Linked DNA regions of Homo sapiens: region 1 is linked to region 2. The links are contacts of gene promoters, found by promoter capture Hi-C in blood cells and fetal thymus (Javierre and others, 2016). All regions are on one chromosome and are shown on one strand. Each heading gives the region's core, a stretch centred on a gene start or on the middle of the fragment in contact. The rest is flanking DNA. Distances are from core to core; before and after follow the strand shown.

The links. Contacts are between HindIII fragments. The CHiCAGO score rates a contact against its expected background, and 5 or more counts as called.
Region 1: a contact is called between a fragment that was not itself captured here and the fragment with the promoter of HUS1 in region 2, in 1 of 17 cell types (total CD8 T cells). The highest score is 9.0, in total CD8 T cells.

The regions. Positions count from the first base shown.
Region 1 is chr7:35,030,679-35,034,003 of GRCh38, forward strand. All of the region lies in intron 1 of DPY19L1 (dpy-19 like C-mannosyltransferase 1), which reads right to left. Among named protein-coding and RNA genes, the nearest start is that of DPY19L1, 5.1 kb to the right of the region's middle. The HindIII fragment of the contact is 6,354 bases long and covers 1-3,325 here.
Region 2 is chr7:47,978,175-47,981,197 of GRCh38, forward strand. HUS1 (HUS1 checkpoint clamp component) reads right to left here and starts at 1,441. Exons shown (of 8, transcript NM_004507.4): 1 at 1,294-1,441; 2 at 515-642; 3 at 243-419. The coding sequence starts at 1,345. RefSeq lists silencers at 962-1,011, 1,092-1,151 and an enhancer at 1,222-1,511. The HindIII fragment of the contact is 1,329 bases long and covers 618-1,946 here.

The DNA.
Region 1 (3,325 bases), core at 787-3,286, about 13 Mb before region 2:
TAATAGTGAGAATGCTGAGAAAATAGAAAGCAGTATTAAAGCACAAAATCAAGCTACAATAGTTGTAGATTTATGTATTCTGAAAATAAATTATTCTGCTTTTTAAATGTATTTATATTCAGTGATTCTTGACTGAATTATGAAAGGTCCTCCATGGAGAACTGATCTTCCCTATGAAATGAAACTGCCCTTTATGAGATTAAACAACATCTAGACCCAGATATAGACGTAATTTTTACTAGCTTTGATGACTAGTAACCATTATAACTAAACAGTTCTAACAGTAACTAAATAAAACTAGCAGCCTCTTCCCCTGGAAGAGTAATGTCTCAATGGTTTGGCTGAAGTACAAGCTGATGGCAAAAGAACTAGCAAAACAGGAATTTAGGATTAAACATATGAATAATAAAGCCTAAAGCTACCCCATTTGGAACTATGTACACAGGTTTATGGTCTCTATGACAATGTAGATTTAGTCAGTCCTCCATATCTGTCAGTTCCACATCTGCAGATTCAACCAACCTCAGATTGAAAATAGTAGGCGGAAAAAAAATCCATCTGTACTGAACACATGCAGATATTATTCCCTAAACAATACAGTGTAACAAATATATAAGTAACATTTACATTCTATTAGGTATTCTAAGTAATCTAGGCATGATTTAAAGTATCCAGGAGTATGTGTGTATGTTATAGGCTAATACTATGCCATTTTATACTAGGGACTTGAGAATCTGCAGATTTTGATATCGGAGGGAGGTCCTTGAACCAATCCCTCGGGGTTACTAAGTAACAACTTGCCTCATTAGCATGAACTTTAAGAAACATTAATATACCTAACACACTCATTAAGAGAAATTAATACAGCCTAATAGGATAAGTATTTACAATGCATAACAGCCACGGTTCAAATATTAGCAACATCCAAATACCCATATGTACATAAATAAAACTGTATGTGCTTTCAGTATTGATGCCATATTATTGGCCAAAAATCAATCACAAATAGATAACATATGCTTATATTTACATAAACTAAACTTATCAAATTTGTTATTTGGATGCTAATGAGCATCACATATTCAGAAAACTTCTAACTGTATCTGTTAATAATAAAATATGTTTAGGTGATTATAAACATTCTTTAGAGTTAGCCAGAAGTCTATCTTAGAAAGAAAAAAAAATGGCTGTAAACATTAAAGAAATTCTTTAAAATCCCAAATTCCCATTGGCATAACCTCTATGAATTAACATAAACACACTCTCACAGCTGGTGCTCAGTTGGGTCTATGTGTCTGTTTGAAAGCAAGCACACCAAGATGGCCTGTGTCCCTGTGCCTCATGCTTCCTTAGCTTTTCTTGGCCCTTATGCCACCCCTAATATGCTCTTTCTACTTGTTGTTCCTGTATCTCTAAGTATGACCCTCTTTTCCTTCTTTTTCCTGGGGAAGGAAGAAACAAGAAAACTAACATTTATTGAGCACAAAATGTTAGGGTTTCTCAGAATTGGACTCTAGGGTTTCATTTCTTTTGCTGTACTGTCCCCTTAGAGGAGATGAAATATAGCATACTAGTTAAGAGCATGAACTTAGGAAACACATTGCCTGGGTCAAATCCTGGCCCTTCTACATTCTAGGGGTGACCTTGGACAAGTTACTTAATATCTTTGTGCCTCAGATTCCCCCCACGTGGTAAAACAAGCACAGTAATCATAGTGTCATGGTGAGGACTGAGTAAACAGTTAAATGAGTTCATCTAAAGCACTTCCAACAAAGCCTGGCAAAGAGTAAGCCCCCTATCAGTATAAGATGCTATTGTTCCCCTAAGTATGGAAATAGAAGTTCAATGGGAATACAAATTCAATTACCATTAATGTGAAAACCACCTATTTGCTGATGACTCCCTGTAGTACATCTCCACTCAGACCTTTTCTCTCATATCCCACCACTGATTGGCATTTCTACTTGGACATCTCACAAATGTCCCAAAAGTAACATGTCCAAGACGAAATTCTTGACCTTTTCCTTCAAACCCATTCCCTCATCCATACCCCTAGTCTTCACTATCTTGGTGAATGCCAGCATTATTTACCCAATTAGAGAAGCCAAAAATGTACAAAGTATTCATAACTCCTTCCTTTCCCTCAATCCAAGCCCAATTCATAAGTCCTATCATTTTCACCTCCAAAATACAACTCAAATTGACCAATTTCTCTCCATCTCCACAGCCACCGCCTTCATCTAGGCCAGCAACCCTCTTGCTAGGTCCGTGAACAGCCTCCTCATGGGTCTCTCCACTTTTGTCCTTGTAGTGCAACCACCCATTTTCCCAAGAGCAGATTTCTCAAAGTAAAAATTTAATCATGTCACTCTCCTCCTGTTGAGCATTCCTCAATGGCTTCCTGTTGCACTGAGAATAAAACCCAAGCTCCTTTTCAAGATCTGGCCCATGCCCATCTCACTTTGATGCACCTCCACCCTCTCTTCTTTCAACATGCTAAGCTCTGTCATACTCTTCTGTTCGGCTGACATCTTTTCTTTCTATCGGTCTCAGCTTCAAGGCTACCTCCCCAGAGACCTTTCCTGACCCTACTTAAAGAGGGTATTTCCTTTTTTTTCTATCTCAGCTTGTTTCTTTCCTGCAGTGCACTCATTCACAATGTGCAATTATTTTCATTTATTTACCATCCCCCCTTCCAGAATGTAAGTTCCATGAAGGTAGGGGTGACAGAGTCTCATTCTACATTTTACCCCACCAACTAGCATCTGGCTTAGTAGACGCTCAATGATATGGTATGACTGACTATGAATGAACTTACTGTGCTATTTTACATGTATTATCTCATTTATTTTTTACCATAATCAGACAAAGCATTTATTATTCCCATTTTAAGGGTGAGAAATATTAAAGGAGTGTAGAACAGCTCGAATGCAGAAACAGGATTCAAATGCAGGCCAGTGTTGATATGGCTATGCTGCTTCTACCACACCACATTGCTCCCCCCATCTAGTCCCCAACAGCTAGATTCAACTCTCTGCCTCCACCCAGTTTCTGACCACTTCTGCCTCTAAGAAGTCGCAAGTGTTTCCTACCATATGGGCTTCAAGGTTCTCGTAAGCTGTAGAGAATAAAAGCTGTGGTCCCAAATGACACAATTTTGCCTCCCAGGGTACAATGGCCAAAATCTGGAGACATTTTCGTTGTCACTACTGGGGAGATACCAGTGGCATCTAGTAGGTGGAGGCCAAGGATGCTGCTAAAATCCTGCAGTGCACAGGAAAGCCCCCTCAACAAAAAAATTATCCCACCCAAAATGCCACAATGC
Region 2 (3,023 bases), core at 191-2,690:
AGAGGCTGGAAGTTTCACGGCTTGGAAAAAGCAGCATTCTAGCTGAATGCATATGATAACAACACAATTTTAAAATGAGGAGGAACTGACTCTAATGCAAAATATAGTTATGGACCAGATCTTTAAATTTAAATAAACCAAACAGCTTTCAACAGTATTTATTGTTAAAAAGGCTAGGCTAACTATGTCTATTCCTTCGAGGCCAAGACTTCTGTGTTAGAAACCCTGACTCTCCTACTCACCAGCTCCACGGAGACCGTGAGGCAGGGAAAGTGTTTATTAGTCAGTTTGATTTTCAAAGCCCTGGCATTCTGGGCAGTCTTCAAGGCTCGAGATAAGTTTTCCGATGTTAGCTCTAAATAAATCTCATTGTTTTCTGCAGAGACACCCTCCATTTGAAATTCGTTGAAGAAGTTCTCCTAAGGGAAAAAAAATGAGGGATGAGGGAGGGTATATGTGATCTTTCCAGTGACAATCTGCAGAGTGTGCAGGCCTCTCAGAAGCTTTTGCTCACCTGTTCCAGCTCACACCACATGCTCACTCCTCCATTAGCCAGCTTGTCACAAAGGATGAAGTTAAGCTTATCAGGGCTGATGCGGAGGGTGCAGGTTTTGGCAAGCTTGGCTATCATGTTACTGATTCCTAAAGCAGGGGTTAAAATAAGGAATTACTAAAATGCACATTATGTATCCTAGAGACCAACTTATTTTGCAGAATTTCTTGTTCATCAACTTCTCGGTGGAAAAATAACCACTTAACGTTGGTATCACACTGGAAAGTACTTTAATACCCCTGATGTCACGCAATTCTCCCAACAAACTAGGGGAGATGTACAGCACACATCATCAGTGTTCAAATAAGAAAACAGGCACCTACCAGTCATTCATTCATTCAACATGGATTTATTGACTACTAGGTACTGCAATACACAGTTAAATGCAAGGTTAGGCACTGTCAGGGTGGAGGGACGAATGGGGCCTTGAAGGTATGTCAATGCCTGATAAAGCCGTCTATGGGAGCAGTGGCCGCTTTTTTTTAAAGCCACGTGATCGGAATCAAGTTTCAGAAACGTCCCTTGAAAGCCGCCTTCATCCCCACAAGTGCCCTCCGACCCGCCCCGCGCCCTCCCGGCCCCACCCTCCCGCGGCCTACACCAGCACCCCCATCCCGGCCCCATCCTCCCGCGGCCCCTTCCGGCGCCCATCCCCGTTCTGATCCTCCTGCGCGGTCCCCACCGCGCGCTCACTGCTTCCTTCCGTTCCTCCCTCGCTCCTCTCCGGCCTCCCTGCTCACGTGTGAAGTGGTTCAGACAGGCCCCGTCCACGATCTTGGCCCGAAACTTCATGGCCGCGGATGGCGCAGCCGCGGCGGGCCTCTGTGGGTAACAGAAAAGCGTCGCGCCCTGAGTGTCCCCGCCCGGAAACACGGCAGCGCGAACAGTGGTTCCGCCCGGCTCGGGCTACGCGACTCTTACCAGGGTTATCTCCGGGCCACGCCCCGGAGGAGGTGGGGCTAGGGGGTCACGCCCTAGAGGAGGTGGGGTCACGGGTCAAGGATCACAGGTCACGCCCCGGGGGAGGTGGGGGTCCCAGTCTCCGGGTATGCCTCCGCGCTGCCGGGTAATGGTGGGATCTACTTTTAGTGAGGCGGAGGCTTCAAGCCCCAGATTCGGGGAGGTTGTTCTGAGAATTCACGTTTTGAAAGAATTTTGTGACACCTATTTCAAGTGTTATTTTAAAATATCCAAATAAAATTAATCGTTTATAAAGGTTAAACAATATTATCTTAAATATACCTAAGGTAGAGCAGCTTTAAACCCTCCAGCCTCAGATGACGGTACTGGTACTTTGGTATTGAAGCATCTTGGTGGATTAAGGTTCTGAAAATTGTTTCAAATGACTTCTAAAAAAATTGAACATATTACTGGCTAGTTGGTAAAGTCGGGAAGCTTAAAGAACACTGACGTTAAGTGATAATTCTGCAGTTTGCCTCAAGACGAACTTTATTACATCCGATAAAATTCTTATTAGCATAAATAATGTCATTAGGATTTTTTTTAAAGGAAAAATTTTAAAGGGGGAAATGAAGCAACAATTGTATCTAATTTGGTTTTTCAAAGACTAAAGATTATCTGTGTTAACAATTGTTATTTTTAATGTCCTTTGCAAATAGACTAGAACCTTGTCTTTAACTTGACACATAGAATCAAGATAATGATAATGCAGATGATGATGATGATGATTTTGAGACGGAGTCTGGCTCTGTCGCCCTGGCTGGAGTGCAATGGCGTGATCTTGGCCCACTGCAACCTCCACCTCCCGGGTTCGAGGGATTCTCCTGCCTCAGCTTCCCAAGTAGTTGGGATTACAGGCACAAGCTACCATGCCCGGCTAATTTTTGTATTATTAGTAGAGACGGGGTTTCGCCATGTTGGCCAGGCTGGTCTCGAACTCCTGACCTCAGGTGATCTGCCCACCTCGGCCTCCCAAAGTGCTGGGATTATAGGCGTGAGCCACCGCGCCAGGCCCAGATAATTTTCAAAGACACATGCACACATATGTTTATTGTGGCACTATTCACAATAGCAAAGACTTGGAACCATCCCAAATGTCCATCAATAATAGACTGGATAAGGAAAATGTGGCACATATACACCATGGAATACTATGCAGCCATAAAAAAGGATGAGTTCATGTCCTTTGCAGGGACATGGATGAAGCTGGAAACCATCATTCTCAGCAAAATATCACAAGGACAGAAAACCAAACACCGCATGTTCTCACTCATAAGTGGGAGTTGAACAATGAGAACACATGGACACAGGGAGGGGAATATCACACACTGGGGCCTGTTGGGGGGTGGAGGCCTGGGGGAGGGATAGCGTTAGGAGAAATACCTAATGTAAATGATGAGTTGATGGGTGCAGCACACCAACATGGCACATGCATACCTATGTAACAAATCTGCACGTTGTGCACATGTACCCTAGAACTTAAAGTGTAATAATAATAAAAAGGTGCAAA